Linked DNA regions of Homo sapiens: all the other regions are linked to region 1. The links are contacts of gene promoters, found by promoter capture Hi-C in blood cells and fetal thymus (Javierre and others, 2016). All regions are on one chromosome and are shown on one strand. Each heading gives the region's core, a stretch centred on a gene start or on the middle of the fragment in contact. The rest is flanking DNA. Distances are from core to core; before and after follow the strand shown. Region 1 holds the start of TSHR (thyroid stimulating hormone receptor). Region 2 overlaps CEP128 (centrosomal protein 128). Region 3 overlaps TSHR-AS1 (TSHR antisense RNA 1). Region 4 overlaps CEP128 (centrosomal protein 128). Region 5 overlaps TSHR (thyroid stimulating hormone receptor). Region 6 overlaps TSHR (thyroid stimulating hormone receptor). Region 7 overlaps TSHR (thyroid stimulating hormone receptor).

What was found. Contacts are between HindIII fragments. The CHiCAGO score rates a contact against its expected background, and 5 or more counts as called.
Region 2: a fragment that was not itself captured here is called in contact with the fragment with the promoter of TSHR in region 1 in 1 of 17 cell types (total CD8 T cells); the score reaches 5.6 in total CD8 T cells.
Region 3: a contact is called between a fragment that was not itself captured here and the fragment with the promoter of TSHR in region 1, in 16 of 17 cell types (fetal thymus, naive CD4 T cells, total CD8 T cells and 13 more). The highest score is 24.7, in fetal thymus.
Region 4: a contact is called between a fragment that was not itself captured here and the fragment with the promoter of TSHR in region 1, in 1 of 17 cell types (fetal thymus). The highest score is 5.2, in fetal thymus.
Region 5: a contact is called between a fragment that was not itself captured here and the fragment with the promoter of TSHR in region 1, in 1 of 17 cell types (fetal thymus). The highest score is 7.1, in fetal thymus.
Region 6: a contact is called between a fragment that was not itself captured here and the fragment with the promoter of TSHR in region 1, in 7 of 17 cell types (monocytes, fetal thymus, naive B cells and 4 more). The highest score is 7.3, in monocytes.
Region 7: a contact is called between a fragment that was not itself captured here and the fragment with the promoter of TSHR in region 1, in 5 of 17 cell types (naive CD8 T cells, non-activated CD4 T cells, activated CD4 T cells and 2 more). The highest score is 5.6, in naive CD8 T cells.

The regions. Positions count from the first base shown.
Region 1 is chr14:80,954,280-80,957,090 of GRCh38, reverse strand. TSHR (thyroid stimulating hormone receptor) reads right to left here and starts at 1,470. Exons shown (of 10, transcript NM_000369.5): 1 at 1,241-1,470. The coding sequence starts at 1,410. It also overlaps a transcript of CEP128 not described here. The HindIII fragment of the contact is 2,816 bases long and covers 1-2,667 here.
Region 2 is chr14:80,737,525-80,740,404 of GRCh38, reverse strand. The region is part of intron 19 of CEP128 (centrosomal protein 128); the gene reads left to right. Among named protein-coding and RNA genes, the nearest start is that of CEP128, 200 kb to the left of the region's middle. The HindIII fragment of the contact is 225 bases long and covers 1,436-1,660 here.
Region 3 is chr14:81,157,195-81,159,930 of GRCh38, reverse strand. The region is part of intron 2 of TSHR-AS1 (TSHR antisense RNA 1); the gene reads left to right. Among named protein-coding and RNA genes, the nearest start is that of TSHR-AS1, 12 kb to the left of the region's middle. The HindIII fragment of the contact is 239 bases long and covers 1,316-1,554 here.
Region 4 is chr14:80,753,690-80,756,472 of GRCh38, reverse strand. The region is part of intron 18 of CEP128 (centrosomal protein 128); the gene reads left to right. Among named protein-coding and RNA genes, the nearest start is that of CEP128, 190 kb to the left of the region's middle. The HindIII fragment of the contact is 2,033 bases long and covers 460-2,492 here.
Region 5 is chr14:81,091,465-81,094,445 of GRCh38, reverse strand. It overlaps TSHR (thyroid stimulating hormone receptor), which reads right to left. Exons shown (of 10, transcript NM_000369.5): 6 at 1,838-1,915. It overlaps TSHR-AS1 (TSHR antisense RNA 1), which reads left to right. Exons shown (of 9, transcript XR_007064290.1): 4 at 122-231; 5 at 709-864. Among named protein-coding and RNA genes, the nearest start is that of TSHR-AS1, 77 kb to the left of the region's middle. The HindIII fragment of the contact is 1,632 bases long and covers 849-2,480 here.
Region 6 is chr14:81,120,027-81,122,967 of GRCh38, reverse strand. The region is part of intron 8 of TSHR (thyroid stimulating hormone receptor); the gene reads right to left. The region is part of intron 2 of TSHR-AS1 (TSHR antisense RNA 1); the gene reads left to right. Among named protein-coding and RNA genes, the nearest start is that of TSHR-AS1, 49 kb to the left of the region's middle. The HindIII fragment of the contact is 2,527 bases long and covers 185-2,711 here.
Region 7 is chr14:81,138,470-81,141,169 of GRCh38, reverse strand. It overlaps TSHR (thyroid stimulating hormone receptor), which reads right to left. Exons shown (of 10, transcript NM_000369.5): 9 at 1,303-1,491. All of the region lies in intron 2 of TSHR-AS1 (TSHR antisense RNA 1), which reads left to right. Among named protein-coding and RNA genes, the nearest start is that of TSHR-AS1, 31 kb to the left of the region's middle. The HindIII fragment of the contact is 6,888 bases long and covers 1-2,700 here.

The DNA of each region.
Region 1 (2,811 bases), core at 221-2,720:
AGTTCTCAGCAGGAGGGGGAAGTTAGAGAAATGAGGAGCAATGAGGTTGGAAAGACTTGACTAGGTCTTGAAAGATCTGGTAGGCTGCACAAAAGAATTTTATTCTAGAGGTGACAAGCAACCTATGTAGAGGTGTAATCAAGAGGCCATTACACCTTTTACACATCTTATTCTGTGGTGGCAGCATGGAGAATGACTACCACACTGTTTGGAGGTTATTGAACTAATTAATTCAGGTGTGCTAAGACACTAGGATATCTCTGAGCACAGAAATATATCTCTGTGCTCAAATATTCATCTACTGTTAAATAGTCTTCATGAGCTAAATTCTTGAGAAAATCTAGAGGTGCAACTTTCCCATTTCTTTTCATCTATCAACATTTTCTTTAATAACCTGCATTTTTTTTTATCTTAACTGGATTTAACCAGCCTAGGTTGTTTTACTGTCCTTTCTTTCTGTTCTCTTTTTAACTAATCAAGACAGACTTTATTCCCTTGGTTTTGTCTACAATTTCAATGATCACTGATTTAAATTGCTGTTAAGAAACAGGTTGTGTGTGTATAATCTTATTTAACATCAGGTTTCTAATCTGGTAACATTTAACATGCAGATAAATGTACTATACTTTTATGAAATTTCATTTCTTTATACCTCTATCACAAAGCAGGGTTCTGGACGTACTATTTCACTGGCAGTTCACATTTGAGTAAGTAACTTACAGATACTGTATAGACAGTTCATTTTAAAAAGGGCCCCTGCTTAAACCTTTGTCAACAATTTGATGAATCAGCAGAACTGCTAAGATAACCTCCCATCTAGAGAAACAAAAAGGAGAAATACATATTTTTGCAATTTTTTATTACCCAAGGTAAGATCAAAAAGGTCAGTTCCTGAGATGCCATTATCCTTATTAATTCAAATAAAACAGATTCAACCAGGGTTAGGCAAAGTGCTGAATAGCAGCTTGTTGGAAAGAACAGCTCTCACGGTCATTGTACACCAAAGTTTTGTAACATTTTCCTGTGTTGGGAATGAGGATGTCAACAATGATACCTTCCCAAGTGTGGGCGATTAAGTTTTTAGCACACACACACATCTACACACACAGACATTCACTCACACATACACACACTCACACACTACTTCGGGCTGTTATTGAGCTGCTTTTGTGCACTTCGGGCCACCTCTGCAGATGCCCTTGATCTCTGGGTCCTACCCTGATCTCTCCCGGGTACTCACAGAGTCTGCGTACTGGGCGGTAAGCTGGGGATGCGTTGAATATCCTTGCAGGTGACTCTGAAGTCCTCCTCCTGATGGCACTCGCAGGGTGGAGACGAACACCCCATTCCGCCCAGGTCCCTGGGCAGGTCGAGCAGCAGCACCAGCTGCAGCAAGTCCGCCGGCCTCATTTTCCACGGGACTCGGGGCTATTTCTCCATCCTCCGAAATCGCCTCATTCTCAGCTCTGCACCTCGGGTTACCCCAGGCCAAAGGAGACCCGGGAGCGGGAGGGGTGGGAAGAGGGAGGGCTCCAAGGGGCTGTGACCTCACCACTGTGGAGGAGGCTGGAGAAGGGGAAAAAGAGGCACTTAAGTGCTCCGCTTCCCTAGGCAACCTTGACCCAAACAAGTCTGCTTGCTTCACTTTCCTTGGCTGGACCCACGCAGTCCGCTCCGTCTGTTCCCTGACACCCAACACCAGTCCTGGCTGTCCCCTCTGTTTTCCAGCCCGCCCCCCCACCCCGGGCGCCCCTCCCATTAGTTCTCTCCAAAGCCTAGTTTAGATGCCCCCTCCTTTCCTCCTCTTTAAATCCAAGGAGCCACCTTCCCTAGCGTGTAGCCTTCTAGACACCCTGTCTGCCTGGGAGCCACTCGCACGCACTCCTTATCCAGAGAAAGTCCCCGCGGAGTGGACTGTCCGCGGGCGGACCAATGTCCTGCAGAACTTCAGCTCCTCCTGGCCAGAGACACCTCTGCTGAGGGTCAGAGGCGGGCACGCAGCCCTGGCTAGCCCGCGGTGCGGCCGAAGCCGTCGCCCTGCACCCCTGGAGGATTCTCGTTGCTATCCAACTGCAGGGGCCACTCCGGTGGTTGAGTCGACTGGCAGCGGCCGCCTCACGTTGCAGCCCGCGGCTCCGCGAGGCAATTCAGGAACTGAACTTTGGGGCCATCTGCTGGGAAGAATCGGGAATGGCAGAAATAATTCCAGGTTCCCTTAATAATGGGTCCAGTATGGAAATTCTGGTCGACCCAAGAATTTCATTGAGTCATATTCCCCCTGGAAGATGGGAAGAAAAATAATACTTAAGTGGCATACTCACCATTCTTCGCACAGTAGCCAAAAAGATCATTACAAACATAAATCAGATTGTGCCTATTTCCTTCTTAAAAGTCTTCAATCACTTATTCCTCTTGGGATAAAAGGAATGTCAATTCCTTCTATACTGCATAATTCCTTTTATATGAACTTGGCTAGGACAGGAAGGAAAAAGTTGTGGTTATGGGAATCAGAATAAAGGTTAGGAAAGATTGACTAGAAAAAGACAGGAGGGAACACACAGGGTTTCCATATCGTAATTAGGCTGGAGGTTAAGTGGATGTATACATTTATCAAAATTCATTAAACCGTACATTTAAAATATGTGTATTCCAAATTTTACAGAAGCTTTATTCATAACCACTAAACGAACCAAGTGTCTCGCGACTAGATAATGGATAAACAAACTCTGATACCTCCACATTGGAATACTATTCTGCAATAAAAATGAATGAACTGCTGATACAACATGCACAAATTTTCTTTTCTTTTTT
Region 2 (2,880 bases), core at 299-2,798, 220 kb after region 1:
GCTGTGGGTGTGGCCTGTCCTGGCCCAAAGATACTTTATTTCTTGCCTTAATGAATTTTTGACAGGCACACAATTGAGAAATGTGTTTTGTTTTATGTATCACCTAGCATAGAGTTTCTATGAAGGCAGTGATTTTTTAATGTTTTGCTGAATGCTGTGTCTCCAATGCCTAGAAAGAGCGTGGTGCACAGTAGACGTGTGAAATATTTGTTGAACAACTGAATGAATGAGGGAAGTAATGAAAGAACACTAAAGGAGCACAGTTAATAGGGGAGCCATAATACTAATATTTAGTGAAAAAAAAAATCACTCTTCCAAAAGAAAGCATAGTTTTTCCCCAAAGTTTAGATTTAGAAAGACAGAGATGATATCTTGCCATTGGCCCAAATTTATTTATTTTTCCCTGTTTTGAAATTTATTGGATACTTATTAAACTCTGAATAACCAAAATAAAAATCAGCAAATATTTGGCAGAAGTTGATTAAGTAATTTAATTAGAGTGGTTTACATATTGTTTATGACACTCTGGAATTAGGTAACAGTATTTGTCTTTTCTAATATTTCAGTTATGTATTACATTTTATGGTAGCAATATTTAAATAGTTTATATTTTATTCATTTCGTGACGGTATCCTCTAAGAGCTTCCTGATTCATTTAGGGACACAATAACATTGTTAGTATTAATTCTAGCCCTATTGTATACTATGATTTAACTCTCTAGTGTAACGTGAAAAAAATTCAAAATACCAAAATATCAAAAAAAAAGAATATTAAAACTTTGTGTCTAAAATAGTCTCAGTCTTTAAGAGTAGAATGACTATAACTTTTAGAGTATGATTCTGTATGTACTACTAGTCATAGAAAAGCTTGAGCCTGATTATGTATGTTGAGTAGAAGGGGCTGTTGATGGGAGAGGTCGAACAGGTGGAAGTTTAGCTGGTATAGCAGGATCCTGGAAGATACGGGTGGATGAGGTCAAAAGTAAAGGTAGAGAAGTGAATGTTGGAAAGAACAAGGGCAAAAGAGTTAGGGATTTCTTCTTTTAAGATCTTTTTAGTGTTTTGAATATGCTAGTATATTTGGCAGATTCACTTATCACAATAATTTTTGTAGTGGTTTTCTTATTTTGATGGGTAGCTTCTTAGCATCTGTAATTGGGTCTAATCTTTGTGTTATATAAGCTCAAAAAAAAGGATGAACATATACATAGTCTAGAAGTAGGCAGTAGAGGAAAGATACATTAGCTCCCTATCCCTTGTATATGCTCAAAGAAAGGATGAGTATTTGGAGAAAAGGAGAGAAGGGATGAGAAGTAGCCACTGGATTTGCAATGTAAAACTTTGGCATGACCTGCGTTGGTAGAAGTCTTAGGAGTGGTTTAAGCCAGATTGCCAAATCAGTATTTTTGGCAACCTGCTTCCAAAGCATAAAGCTTGTCATATGATGTATATCCAAAGCATTAGAGCCACCTTAGTGGCGAATCTGGCACACTATTCACTGATTATTCTGGCCATATACATGGCTGTGAGCATAAAGAGATGCAGTAGACTCCCCTTATGTGTGGAGACTTAGGCACCCTAGTGGATGCCTGAAACTGCAGGTAGTACCAATCCCTATATGAACTGTTTTTTCCTATACATACAAACCTATGATAAAGCTTAATTTATAAATTATAAACAATAAAACATTAATAATAATTAATAAAATAGAACAATTATAACAATATAGTATAATAAAAGTTACTCGAATGTGATCTCTGTCACTAGGTGTCTTATTATACTGTACTTACCTATTTTCGGACTGCAGTTGACAGGCAGTGATTGAAACCAAATTGAAACTGTATGACTTAGATTTTTTCTATCTAAAAATAGGGGGGAGACTACTGTATGACTTAGATTTTTTCTATCTAAAAATCTGATTTTAATCTAATGTGATAGATTTTGGATCTGTCAATAGTGTTCTCAACTTTTTAATGGTTTATTCCTTTGGTTTCATCATTCCCAGTGTTCTGAGAAACTTTTCAGCTGGTTTTTCTGCTTTTCCCTGCTCATCCTTCGAATTTCTATGCTACTTGTACAGTTGGTGGTCAATTGCTGTTAACAGAGGATAATGTCTTATAATTTATTTGTGGGACAGAAATAACGGAGGGACTCTCGAACTGTAGGTATCTTTTCTAACATGTAGTTTAGACTTTATGTTGTGCTTATACATTATTTATATATTGGTTTACTTTTCTAGTCATCCAGTCACTCATTCGTCTATCACTTATTCTGCAAATCATTTCACAGTTTTTCAGATTTGTCTTACTGAAGAAATAATTTAGAATCATGATATTCATAGAAGTGTCCTTTAGTCCCAAAACAGGAAGAAGCAAGTTTTTTCTATTCCATATTGGAGTGTAATATTTAAACATTCTGAAGTAACTTATGGGATGATTTCTAAATGTAATATCATTTATTTATTTGGACTCTGGTTAATTTTTTAAAATTGAATTTATCATCGGATTGATTGATTGAGATGGGGTCTTGCTCTGTCACCCAGGCTGGAGTGCAGTGGCGCCATCTTGGCTCACTGCGGCCTTGACCCCTCAGGCTCAAGCAGTCCTCCCATCTCAGACTCCTGAGTAGCTGGGATTACAGGTGCATGCCACCATGCCTGGCTAATGTTTTTATTTTTTAATTTTTGTATAGAGATGAGGTCTTGCTAGGTTACCCAGGCTGGTCTCAAACTCCTGGACTTAAATAATCCTAGACCTTGTTTTCCTGAGTTACTGGGATTACAGGCATGAAACTGTGCACCTGGCCTTAGCATCTTATTTTTACATTGTGACCAGCTTGTTCAGAAGTTCAATGGTGTAGATCATTAGAGATAATTAAAAT
Region 3 (2,736 bases), core at 186-2,685, 200 kb before region 1:
ATTTCCCACTATATGTCCATGTGTACCCCTTGTTTAGCTCCCACTTATAAGTGAGAACATGTAATATTTGACTTTCTGTTTCTGAGTTATTTCACTTAGGATGGTGGCCTCCGGCTCCATCCATATTGCTGCAAAAGACCTGCTTTTATTCTTTTTTAGGGCAGCATAGTATTCCATGATGCATGTATACCATATTTTCTTTCTCCAATCATTTGTTGATGGACAGTTAGGGTGATTCCATGCCTTTGCTATTGTGAACAGTGCTGTGATAAACACAGAGTGCAGGCATCTTTTTGATAGAATGATTTCTATTCCTTTGAGTAGGTACTCAGTGGGATTGGTGGGTCAAATGGTAGTTCTACTTTTAGTTCTTTGAGACATCTCCATACTTTTTCTGTATTCCCACCAACAATGTATAAGCGTTTGTTTTTCTCCACATCCTTGGCAACATCAGCTGTTTTTTGATTTTTTAATTAATAGCCATTATGACTGGTGTGAGATGGTATCTCATTGTGGCTTTAATTTGCATTTCTCTGATGATTAGTGATGTTGAACATTTTTCATGTTTGTTGGTTGCTTGTATGTCTGAAGAAATGTCTGTTCATTGTTTATGTCCTTTGCCCACTTTTCTTTTCTTTTCTTTTTTTTTTTTTTGAGACAGCGTCTTCCTTTGTTGCCCAGGTTGGAGTGCAGTGGTGTGATCTTGGCTCACTGCAATCTCCACCTCCTAGGTTCTAAGAGATTCTCCTGCCTCAGCCTCCGGAGCAGCTGGGATTACAGATGTGCACCATCACGCCCGGCTAATTTTGTATTTTTAGTAGAGACGGGGTTTCACCATATTGGCGAGGCTGGTCTTGAACTCCCGACCTCAGGTGATCCACCTGCCTCGGTCTCCCAAAGTGCTGGGATTACAGGCGTGAGCCACCGTCTCTGGCCATCCTTTGCCCACTTTTAAATGGAGTTATTTGTTTTTTTCTTGTTGAACTGAGCCAAACAAAAGCTCAGTTCAGGCAGGCCATGGTTGCTTATGCTGGTAATTCCAGCACTTTGAGAGGCTGCTGCGGACGGATCGCTTGAGTCGAGGAGTTCTGAGACCAGCCTGGGCAACATGGCGAAACCCCATTCTACAAAAAAGTACAAAAAATTAGCTGGGCATGATGGTGCTCTCCTGTAGTCCCAGCTACTCAGGAGGTTGAGGTGGGAGGATTGCTTAAACTTGGGAGGTGGAGGTTGCGGTGGGTGACAGAATGAGTCCTTGTCTCAAAAAAAAAAAAAACAAAAACAAAAAACAAAAAGAAAAAAAAATGAAAAAGCTTAATTTAACAGTTTTTCTTGCATGTGAATGACCTCTGAGCTTTTAAATGGAAAGTTGACACTGAGTTTTGGTGAATGGCAGGGGTTTTTGGTTTGTAATACAAGTGCTTTTTTTCTTATTAAGTTTTTCCTTGTAGGTTCTGGGTATCAGTCCTTTGTTGGATGCATAGTTTGCAAATATTTTCTCCCTTTCTGTAGACTGTTTACTCTGTTGATTATTTCTTTTGTTGTGCAGAAGCTTTTTAGTTTAATTAAGTTTCATTTTTCTGTTTTTGTTACGTCTTAGTCATGAATTCTTTGCGTAGGCCAATATCTAGAAGAGTTTTTCTTAGGTGTTCTTCTAGGATTTTTATGGTTTCAGGTTTTATGTTTAAGTCTTTAATCCTTCTTGAGTTAATTTTTTTTTATAGGGTGAGAGATAGGGGCCAAGTTTCATTCTTCCACATGTGGTTATCCAATTTTTCCTGCACCATTTATTGAAAAGAGAGTCCTCTGCCCAGTGTAACTTCTTGTTAGCATTATTGAAGATAAGTTGGATTGTTGGTATGTGGCTTCATTTCTGGATTCTCTATTTTGTTCCATTGATCTATGTGTCTATGTATGTACCAGTACTATGCTGTTTTGGTTATAATAGCCTTGCAGTGTAATTTGAAGTCAGGTAGTGTGATGCCTCCAGCTTTGTTCTTTTTGCTTAGGATAGATTTCTATGGAGTAACACTGCTCTGTAGTAACATTCAGAAACTGTAATAATTTTTATACTGTGGTGACACATATATCTTCCTCTCTAGATTCAAAGTTTTTTTAAAGTCTGGGACACAGTTAAAAAAATTCTGATGTATATGCTCTGCTTGCAGAAGGTACTCAATAAATGAATACAAGTCAAACAAATGCTCAATTCAAACACTTTCTTGCATGTAGATGACTAGTTCTCTGGGCTTTTAAATGGGAAGTTGAGACTGAGTTTTACTGAATTGCAGGAGTTTTTAGCTTGTAACCACAAGTGCTTCCTTACTGTAAGATAGATGACTCAATGAATAGGCTTCTTACAGAGAAAATGATGGACAGTGGACTCTTTTTTAATGATCGGTAAGAATTTATATAAGGCCATGTCTAATTTTTAACTACAGAGGATGACTATATCATAAAACAGAAAATTGTCAAATGTTCATGCTCTACCAGGGGTAAGCTATTATATTTGAGAGGACACATTTTTTTTAAAATTTCAATAGTTTTTGGGGAACAGGTAGTGTTTGGTTGCATGGAAAAGTTGTTTAGTGGTGATTTCATGGGAAAGTTGTTTAGTGATGATTTCTGAGATCTTTGTGTACCCGTCACTCAAGCAGTGTACACTGTACCTGGTGTGTACTCTTTAATCCCTCACCCACCTCCCAACCCTTCCCCCTGAGTCCCCAAAGTTCATTA
Region 4 (2,783 bases), core at 227-2,726, 200 kb after region 1:
GTTAGTTTTGGGTAGAACAATGACATGAAGATGAGAATATTTGAGTAACCACAGATAATGCCCTGAGATTGGTGAGTAAGACATGGGTGGGAGGTGATGGAAAGATAAAGTTTACCTTTGAAGGCCAACTATGCATTAGAGAAGCCTCCTAAAACAAAGCATTCTTAACAAGAAAATGAAAGTATAGTGATTGAGCATTAGACTTTAACAACAGTGAACCTGTGCATTTCTAGCCATTTTTGATAGAAACAAATACAAATTTGTATTTATGCCACCTGAATAGGGAATTTAGAATACACGTTTTGCTGTCTCAGAATGTTTTGGCCAGAAATTTCTGTTGTGCATTAATATTGCGTTTCTCATTTTTCTTTTCCTCAGCTTTACAATTCTGACAACAAGAGCAATGTACTTAGAATTTTCTTTCAAGTTAAAATCTTTATCATTTCTGAACAGAAAGCTTTCACTGCAGTAGTTCAGTTAAACTATGAGAGCCACAGATGATTCTTAATCATAGCTCTTTAATTTGGGAGCTTGTGAGCAGTTTTCCCTTATCATTTAATGGGATTGAACTTCTGATCAGACCCCTTCTATTACTGCATGAGACAACTGTTCCTTCTACAGTGTAAACGGGTTGTGATGAAAAATACCACACTGACCAACTGACTAAGGGGGAATTGAATCTATTTGCTAGAAAGATGGGTTAGGTTATTGATGGGCTACAGTACTATAATTCCCATGAACTATGACTGGACAGCTCTATAAGTATTGAAGATAAGATCTGAAATCAGAGGACAAAAAACTATATGGAAAGTAGAATTGCTCTTCAGATAGTCCATTCTGACGTCTTGCAGTATTAGAAGGACCTCTGAGGGCATTCAGTAATTGTTTTCATAAATCTACCAAATGAATTTGTTCTGTTAGTGTTAATTCTAGAAAACAAGGATTGGGTGGGGATTGCACACAGTTGCTTTGTTGGCACTGGTGGCATAATAAAATTATGAAGTCCAATTGAGAGTTGGACTATACTTACAGGTAAAATAGCTAATGAATGGTAATAATAAGAAATTACAGGAAGGAAGAGGGTTGAGATGGTCTGTATTAGTCAGGGTTCTCCAGTGGGACAGAACTAATGGAATAGATCTATTTTTAAAGGGGAGTTTATAAGTATTTACTCACATGATCACAAGGTTCCACAATAGGCCATCTGCAGGCTGAGGAGCAAGGAGAGCCAGTCCAAGTTACAAAACTGAAAAACTTGGAGTCCAATGTTCAAGGGCAGGAAGCATCCAGCATGGGAGAAAAATGTAGGCTGGGAGGCTCGACCAGTCTGTCTTTTCATATTTTTCTGCCTCCTTATATTTCAGCCACACTGGCAGCTGATTAGATTGTGCCCACCCAGATTAAGGGTGAGTCTGCCTTTCCCAGCCCACTGACTCAAATGTTAATCTCCTTTGGAAACACCCTCACAGACACACCCAGGCTCAATACTTTGTATCCTTCAGTCTAATCAGTTTGGCACTCAGTGTTAACCATCACATGGTCATTAAGGAATGCCAGGTAAGCAGTTTCCGTAGATGAGGGGTATGTTTTTGTAACAAGTTCTAACAAGGTATGGTAAGGCCATGTTTTCTTCAGCTTAATGGAATTTACTGAGAAACTACTACGTCTCAGATGCTGTTACATGCTGTGGGCATAAAAAATGAACAAGACGTCCGGGCACAGTGGCTCACGCCTGTAATTCCGGCACTTTTGGAGGCCGAGGTAGGGGGAATCATGAGGTCAGGAGATTGAGACCATCCTAGCTAACACGGTGAACCCCTGTCTCTACTAAAAATACAAAAAATTAGCCGGTCATGGTGGCACGTGCCTGCAGTCCCAGCTACTCGGGAGGCTGAGGCAGGCAAATTGCTTGAACCCAGGAGGCAGAGGTTGCAGTGAGCCAAGATTGTGCCACTGCACCCCATTCTGGTGACAGAGCAAGACTCCATCTCAAAAAAAAAAAAAAAAAAAAAAGAACAGGACATTGTCCTGGTCTTTAGGAAAGACAGACAATATGCAGATAATTTCAGTCTTACAAGCAGGAGCTGTAATAGAAGTATGCAGAAGCTGCCATGGAGGCTGATGTCCCAGATGAATATTGAAACCATCCAGGTAAAGAGCAAAGAGCAAACATGCAAAGAACAAAGTTCTAGGAAAGGCACAGAACAGAAGCAATTTGATGAATGCAAAGAACACTCAAATGATTTAGCAATAGTAAAATATGAAGGTATGACACAGAGAATGGCAGGGGATGGGGCTCCAGAGGGATTAAGTTCATCCAGTAGAGCATTGTTTGCCATTTTGAGGATCCTGGATTCAGATCTACATTGCATGGAGAATCACAAAGGAGTTTTGAACAGGAGAATGGCATGCTTATATTTATATTTTGGTAGTGAGGTGAAAGGTAGATTAGAGTTGGTAAGATTTGAGGTAGAGAAACCAGTTAAGAAGCTTTTCCCATACAGTGAGATAGAGTGAGAGTCTGAATTAAGAAAATTGTTCAAACATTCAGAGGAAAGGACAGACTGGAGTAATTTTGTTGACAGCATACACATGATGAGAGATGTTATATTCTAGGGTAATGGAGAAAGAGATTTCCAGGATTTTCTAGCCAAAGTAGTCAGGGATTGGTATCTGAATAAATGATCATGTAGTGTCCCAGATAGGCAAATTCGTGGCAGTATTGAAAGAGTTTCCACCAGAGAGACTGATAGTCAGAAACTTCTATTTGGACAGGAAGGCCC
Region 5 (2,981 bases), core at 415-2,914, 140 kb before region 1:
AATTTTTTCTAAACTAGAACTCTTTTATGAAGATGTGAGAACTGTGCATATGGCATTTTAATTTTCCTAAATTTGTTGAGAGTCCTGGACATTAAAAATACTTGTTTGAATTGCATTTCAGATATTAAACAGAATTCTTAATGAACAAATCGGCCTTGAAAAGGGAACATGGTGAAGCAAGACAAAAGAATTACAAACTTTGACTGAAACTTTCTCCTACCAGGAATACAGGTACAAAGTCGGTTGTTGGAACATGTGTCTTTTCAAGTTGATAGTTTTTTGAGCCTGAGCTTCGAAGAAGCAAGGACTTTTGCCAAAATGTAGAAATAATCATCTGAAAAGATCATGAATAATCCATGCCATCCTCTCCTCTATATTTTAGGAAATATGGGCTTCCCTCACTCAGATGTTTCTAGAAACACATGCTGGGCTCTATGCTAGGTGTGGGACAATGAGCTTTCACTTGAGGGGGGTGCTTGAGATATGGGGGTTTTAGAGAAATGGTGTCAAGGGGTAGAGGTAATATTCTATAAAGAAGTTTAGCATGTAGGAGTTTCCTTATGATGAGCACTATATGGCGCAATGGAAAGCTTTACTGAGGAAGTAAATGGCTTTGAAGTTTGGAGCTGAGCAGGCTAAGAGCCTGGGCCTTTTCTGCATGGTAAGAAGAAATTATGACTGAGAAGGAGCCTCCTTTGTCTTTTCAAGGGACCGCTCACCAGGTTGTGATGAGAAGGATCATCTGAAATGCTCCATTGCTCTCAGAAGTTGAGGTAACTTCATTGGGCCCAAACTGATAAACTAGGAATGGCTCAGAAAATAGCCCCTTAGAAGAACTGTATGAAGCTTGGATCCATTTTTCTGGTGAGTAATTTGATCAGGTTTGTATCTGATAAAGACCTCCACCCCAACTTTAGTGTGAGCAGAGAAATGAAACTGGGGTGACAATCCAGACAAAAACTTCACCAGGCTTGAACTTGGGCAGTGGTCCTGAAAATAGAGAGGAGACCCTGCAGAGGTAGCTCCAACTCTACTTTGTGACTTACACAATGAGAGAGGAACTTTCTACCAGCTTGGAGAATTAACTTATCCTTTATACCTCTATTAGATCTTCTCCTTTAGAACATTTTGTGAATATCCCTAATTAAGCATCTACTTTTGACCATCTAAAGGGCTTTGCCCCCATTCAGGCTCTGGAAAAATGCTGACCTATAGCAGCACTATGCTTTCTATGTAATATCCCCTTACAGGAGCTTAATAACAGTTTGTGATTACTGAGTAAAAGTGTGAGTGCAGAATTTATAAAGTTCTTAGTGGCACCACTTTTTTTTAACTCAGTGATCTTGGGTAAGTCACTTCAATTTGCTTAAACCCCAGTTCTTCTTCTGTAGAATGGGGACACTTGGATACAGATGATTATTCCATAAGGCCTGCAGGCCAAATCTAGTCCACTGCCTCTTTCTATAAATAAAGTTTTATTGGAACACAGACATGCTCATTAGTGTATATATTGAGTACTGCGGTTTTTGCCACACAATGCCAGAGTTGACCAGTTCCTACAGAGGTTGCATGGTCTGTAATGCCTAACTGGTTCTTCACGTGAAAAATGTACCAACCACTGCCGTAATGGAATCCTCTTGTCTTGTTACCTAAACTGTTTTGTAGTCTACAGAGTACCATCCCATAAGACAATACTATTATTTAATTGTGTAAAACACTTTGTACTCTATAGAGTATATATGATAAGGCAGTATGGCTCTTGGATGGTCTGTAAACATATGAAAATGGCTCAAAATAGAATTTAGTTGATGGAGGGAGTAGAACTGGTAATACTCACAGTGTCAAGGTTTCATTGCATAGTCCCTGAAAAGCATTCACAGGGATTGACGTCATGTAAGGGTTGTCTGTAATTTCACTGCAAGAGAGAGGGACAAAAACACTTAATGAAAAAATGCTTTCCTTCTGCAGCAGGGGTCTTGCTGCGCATATGCACTTAAATAACAGGACACAATATAGCTTAATCTTATTTCTTTTTAAGTTTCACTGACCCTTCTTAACCGCTAGTGGCTCAGAGGTCTGGTGAGGTGGTGAGAGCTGTCCTAGATGACATGCACCTGGAGCCCAAATGTGGGGTAAGTGAGAGCTTTAGGTGTGGGTGGAGGTCCCTGACTTAATCCTCATCTTGGGGTAGGCAGATGGATTTGAGAGGCTTCTCCCGAATCTGCAACACTTTGTCCACAACAACTAGAGTTTTCTACATGCATGGACCTTTAAGAAGGTCAGGATAAAAGGATTAAAGGATTTCATTTAATGAGTATTTCTAAAATGTCCTTCACTTGCCAAACTTCGCCAGGCTCCTGGAGAACCTTTCTACGCCATTCTAGTTTCTGGAAGATTGCTTACATTTTGAACTGAGCTCTTTTGCAACAAAGAAGTATGATCAATTTTTTTTTCTAGCAAAACCCCAAGAGTTTGAAGCTTATCATTCTACATTTTGCTGACTCTTTAATGCAAACTCAACTTGTAATTCTCTCTGCCTTACGTCCTTTCATTCCTATACAATTAGTAAGACAACTGACCCATGTCACCAGCTTTGAAAAAGGGCACATGGGTGCCAATCAAAGGTCACAGGCAGTAATTTGAGTACCACTTCTGACTGTTCCTTGAGACACTGCTCAGACAAAATCACTTGAGGTTTCTATTCCTCAGTTTCCTCATTCATAAATGGAAAAGCAGTAACTTTGTTTTACACCTTATAAGGTGGCTGAGAGGAGCAAATGTCATGTGTGGGAAAGTGTTTAAAAAACTATTAAAACTCTATGAAAAATAAGGTATCATAGTTATCATCAAATATTCCTTCTATTCAACCATTCCCATTGGCAAAGAAACATTGCATAATTTCTTCCATTTAAAAACAAAAACACACAAACAAAATCTTTTCTCCTGACTCAATATCTTGCAATTACTGAGCTATTTTCTGC
Region 6 (2,941 bases), core at 199-2,698, 170 kb before region 1:
TTTCAGTAGAGACGGCGTTTCACCATGTAGGCCAGGCTGGTCTTGAACTCCTGACCTCAAGTGATCCACACCGCCTCAGCCTCCCAAAGTGCTGGGATTACAGGCCTGAGCCACCACGCCCAGCCTAATTTTTATTAAAATAATGCATGGACCTATTTTTAAAAAGCAAATTATACTGGAAGCTTGTTAATACAAGAGGCAGCCCTTCCCTGCAGTCTGGTGTCTGATGTCCCAGAAGTAACCCCTTTTAACTTCTGGTATTTCCTTCCATAAGTGTAAGTATTTCTTGATGTATTGTTTTTAGGTTTTATCCGCTAACTCTCTACTATAGAAGATGAGGATTTGGCTTTCTTTTATCATCCCTCACCCCTACACATTTCCTCTCCTGACACACTCTTCTACTCTCCTGAAATAGTTTTGTGACATATTTGGTTAAACCCATATTCAGTACTGTGGTTATTGCAACTTTGCATATTGCGCTTTCATTTCCTTTGTCATGTAACTGTTTGTTTTTTTTTTCATAAGATGTCCATCTGTCTCTCTCTTTTTATTTGGGTGTCTTTGTTTGAACAAACCTCTTGCTAAGTTTTCTACATGCTCCAATGTTCTTTAAAACACCTCTCAAGGCCAGGAGCGGTGGCTCACACCTATAATCCCAGAACTTTGGTAGGCCTAGGCAGGTGGATCGCCTGAGGTCAAGAGTTCGAGACCAGCCTGGCCAACATGGTGAAACCCCATCTCTACTAAAAATACAAAAATTAGCCAGGTATGGTGTTGGCACCTGTAATCCCAGCTACTTGGGAGGCTGAGGCAGGAGAATTGCTTGAACCCGGGAGGTGGAGATTGCAGTGAGCTGAGATCGCACCATTGCACTCCAGCCTGGGTGACAGAGCAAGACTTCGTCTCAAAAAAAAAAAAAAAAAAAAAAAAAAAAAAAAAAAAAAAAAGGAAAAGAAAACACATCTCAAACCAGTTTTTCACACAATGAATTCCATCAAATAATCTATCAATCCTTTTATTTTTTTGAGACAGAGTCTTGCTCTGTCTCCCAGGCTGGAGTGCAGTGGTGCAATCTCGGCTCACTTGCAGCCTCCGCCTCCTGGGTTCAAACGATTCTCCTACCTCAGCCTCCCAAGTAGCTGGGACTACAATTATGCACCAACATGCCTGGCTAATTTTTGTATTTTTAGTAGAGATGGAGTTTCACCATGTTGGCTAAGCCGACCTCAAACTCCCGACCTCAAGTGATCCGCCTGCTTCTGTCTTCCAGAGTGCTGGGATTACAGGCATGATACACCGTGCCCAGCCAACCCTCTTTTATTTCTAGAAGACCTTCCTCTTGGAGTCTTCATTCTTCAGCTCTGATGTAGACATCATGTTCCCAAGATTCCTCAGACCTCCCTTTGTGGTCATCCTGGGGATTCTATTTGCTTCTTTCCTGTGTTGATCACTGTTTTAACAAAGTCCTCATTTTTCTTTTTCCTGGTTTATTCTCCAAGAAAAGGTGAACAGGAAATCAAGGTTTTGAGATTTTGCATGTGAGAAAATATCTTTATTTTATCAATCATACTTGATTGGTAGTTTGGAAATGACTTTCCCTTCAGAATTCAACAGGTGTATTCTATCTATGGTCTTCTTCAATGTCGCCATTGAGAAGGCTGAGGGCATTCCGATTCTCCCACCTGCACAGGCCACATGATTTCTCTGTCTAGACGCCTTTAATTTATTATTTTTATCCCATTGATTTCATGTTTTATGATGTACCTTCATGCCTCCCCACCCTTTTTTTTTGCCATATGGGTTCTCCGTGGGTCTTTTTATTCTGAAAATTCATTTTCTTTATTAATGGGAAATCTGCTACACTATTTTTCAGTTTTTGTTTTCTCTTCCTAAAACTTTTGTTAGTTGGGTTGTGGACCTCGTGGCTTGAATTTCTAATGTTCATGTTTTTTCTTTCCTCTATTTCATATTTTTTTGCTGTCTCTACTGAGTGCCATTTTTCCCTTTATCTTTAACAACTTCTGCTTACTTTTTTGGTTTTGGCTTTCATGTTTTTAATTTTCAAAAGCTCTTTTATTGTTTTCTGAATATTCCTGTATAAGGAATTGTTTTGCACATGTAAAACATTGTCTCTCTGAGGATATTTGTTATAACTTTCATGAAAGTTTTCTTCTGGTTCTTGCATTGTTTCTGTTCCTTCCAAGTTCCTTTTTCTGTTTATTTTAGTCCTTGTTTTTCATGTCACCACATCTATTCAACATAGTACTGGAAGTCCTAGTTAGAACAATTAGGCAATACAAATAAACGGCATCCAAATCCTAAAGAAAGAAGAGAAACTGTTTCTGAGTGCGGATGACATTATCTTATACAGAAAATCAGAAAGCCTCCACCAAAAACCTGTTAGAACTAAGAAATGAATTCAGTAAAGTTACAGGATACAAAGTCAACCTACAAAAATCAGTTGTGTTTCTATAAACAAACAATAAGCTATCAGAAAAAGAAACAAAGAAAACAATCCCATTTATAATGGCATCAAAACAAAACAAAAACTAGGAATAAATTTAAACCAAGGAGGTGAAAGATCTGTACACTGAAAACTCTAAGACATTGACGTTTTTCATGTCAATGGATTTCCTCGAAGGTCTGCTGGTTCTTGGATGTCTGTTCTTGTTTGTAAGGGAGGCCTATGGGAAGCTCTGTGTGTGGAAGCTTATTGGCTGGTGGGCATTACCATGGTGACTTTGGGAGACTATCAGTGATTCTTTTTTATTTTTTTATTTTTTTTATTATTATACTTTAAGTTTTAGGGTACATGTGCACATTGTGCAGGTTAGTTACATATGTATACATGTGCCATGCTGGTGCGCTGCACCCACTAACTCGTCATCTAGCATTAGGTATATCTCCCAATGCTATCCCTCCCCCCTCCCCCCACCCCACA
Region 7 (2,700 bases), core at 170-2,669, 180 kb before region 1:
GGCCTTCTTTGTGTGTGTGTGTGCATGTGCCTGTGTGTGATGGAATCTCAGAATCTTGCTTTGTTGCCCAGGCTGGAGTGCACTGGCACGATCTCGGCTCACTGCAACCTCCGCCTACCGGGTTCAAGCAATTCTTCTGCCTCAGCCTCTCCAGTAGCTGGGATTACAGGAACCCACCACCACATCTGGCTAATTTTGTTTTTTGTATTTTTAGTACAGACGGGGTTTCACCATGTTGGCCTGGCCGGTCTCGAACTCCTGACCTCAGATGATCTGGCCATCTCAGCCTCCCAAAGTGCTGGGATTACAGGCGTGAGCCACTGTGCCCGGCCACCATATTGGCCTTCTTTGTATGGCTGTTTTAGCTTCTGCCCTCACACCTAGATCTGATATTTTCCTGACTGCAATTATGTGTGTAGTAAGTCAATCACTAAATACATAGAAGCTGAGGAGGACTGAATAGAGATGATGAAGGTGGATTAGGAGAACAGGAGATTGTACAAGACACAATGGGGGAAATAATGCAGAGTAAAAGCAAAAAAGTAAAAGAATCAGAGAAAGCCTGGAGAGAAAATGAAGGCAATTCCTCCTTCGCAGGCTCATAAGCAGCCTGATGTGCACATACTGTATATCATAGTTAATATTAATGAAGATCTTATAATATTCCAGGCCATTCCATTCCAGTGTTTTCCATTCAGTTTCTCATTTAATCTTCTCAAAACTGCTATGAATGTTAGTATTAGGATCTCCATTCCCAAAGACTCAGAGTGGTTAAGTAACTAGGCTGGGATAACACAGCTTGAAAAATGGCAGAGCTGCGGTATAAACCCAGCTGACTCCAAAGCCTGCAGGCATGTAACCAGGGAGCTATGACATTTGCAAGGCCCAAACCAATCAGGTAACCCAACTGTTTGTGTTGTTTATAAGTCTGTTCTCATGGTTGTGGTGTCTGGGGTCTAATATGTGTTGCAGTATCTAATTCTGAATTGTACCTGGAAACCGGACATCATATCTACATAACCTCTACAAGATTCTATGAGATCTGGTTGTGTTTCTCTCTCCTGTGCCATCTGTCACCTCCTCTGCTCTACCGCTATCCAGCAGCAATTGCCTTATTTCTCAGCTGCACCCACTTTGGGTCCGCAGGGTCACTGTGTCCCATGGATTTCCTGTTTCATATGGATGCTTCCAATTTCCTCTCCACCTGGTTTTCAAACCAGGAAGCATCTTCCCCAAAACCAAGAAATGAATTCCACTTCCACCAAGGTCTTTTGTCACTTATGCCGGGTCCCTGCCACTTACCCTCTGATTTTCTTCTGATTCTTAAAAGCACAGCAGTGGCTTGGGTAAGAAAGGTCAGCCCGTGTGAGGTGAAGGAAACTCAAGGAAAGTGGAAGTTTCTTAAGAGTCCAGGTGTTTCTTGCTATCAGTTCCTTCAGGTGCTCCAGGCCTTTGGATGGAAGGGCAGTGACACTGGTTTGAGACACGTCCCTGGGAGGCAGAGAACAGAAAAATGCAGAGAGGCAGTGAGCAGCCAGGGCCTTCTCAGCCTTGGCCAGAAACTCAAACAGGCCTGAGGTTAATTGGGAGATGATATGCTCCTTTCTTCTACTGAGTACATAAGCTGAGCTTCTGGTCTAAGGAGGGATGGATATTAGGCTTCTAAGCCTGTGTTATAGGAACTCCTTGGAATTCCAGTATCCAGTAGTACAAATGCTATTTCCACAGTCATTTTATTCTATCCATCACAATACATGCAAACTCTTGGAATCAGAGAGAGATGTCAATTTTACTCTGCAACATGCCACCATGTGACTATGAAAGGGTCTCAAGAGGCAAGAGAAATGAAGTAGAACAGAGACGAAGGGGACTACTTTGCTATCAGCTGCTGTGGGGACTAGAGTTTGGGGACTGATAAACTGCTCACTGATATGAATCAACATCAGTATCATGAAAATCTGATAATGATGCAGACCTCAGAGTCATAACCAGTTACATTGGGAATTCATGACTGACAACATTTCCCCCCATCCCCCGCCACTCCAGTGTCTTTAGAAGACTGTAAATTGATTCTTGGAAAGAAAACTCAAGTGTTGATATTAACAATGTGAAATCAGATTCAAATCACTTCTGAGAACAATGGGGTGAGGGGGGTGGTGGTCAGGCTGGGAACATGTAGACATCAGTGTTAGTTACTAAAATAGAATGAATTCGTGGCATTAGTGTGGCATTCTCTGCTCTTTTCTGAATCCCAGAGAGTCCAGGTTCCATGTCTTGCTCCATCATTTTTATTGGCACCATTAATAGCTTGAATAAGGCCATGAATATTTAACCTAATATCCCTCCTATTTTATATTTTGTCAATTAAAATATTCCTCATAGAAGATAATTCCATTTAAAATATTTAATATAATTAATAGTATCCAATTAGCTAGTGAATTCCATTATTTTCCATTTCCTCCCCCCACATCGTTGTAATTGGACTTAGCTGGGGTTTACATTCTCAAGGTTCAAGGCCGTCAGAACTTAAAGCTCATGTATTAACCCCATTCTCACCACAGGACTGTTACTCTTGTGAGGAAAGGGTTGGTGCAGTTGCTATTTTGTTTTGTATTTAATTAAAAAAATATATAATCTAGCATTTTCCAAACTGGTCTGCTGGTAAGAATTACCCTTGGTGCTGCTGGGTGCGGTAGCTCA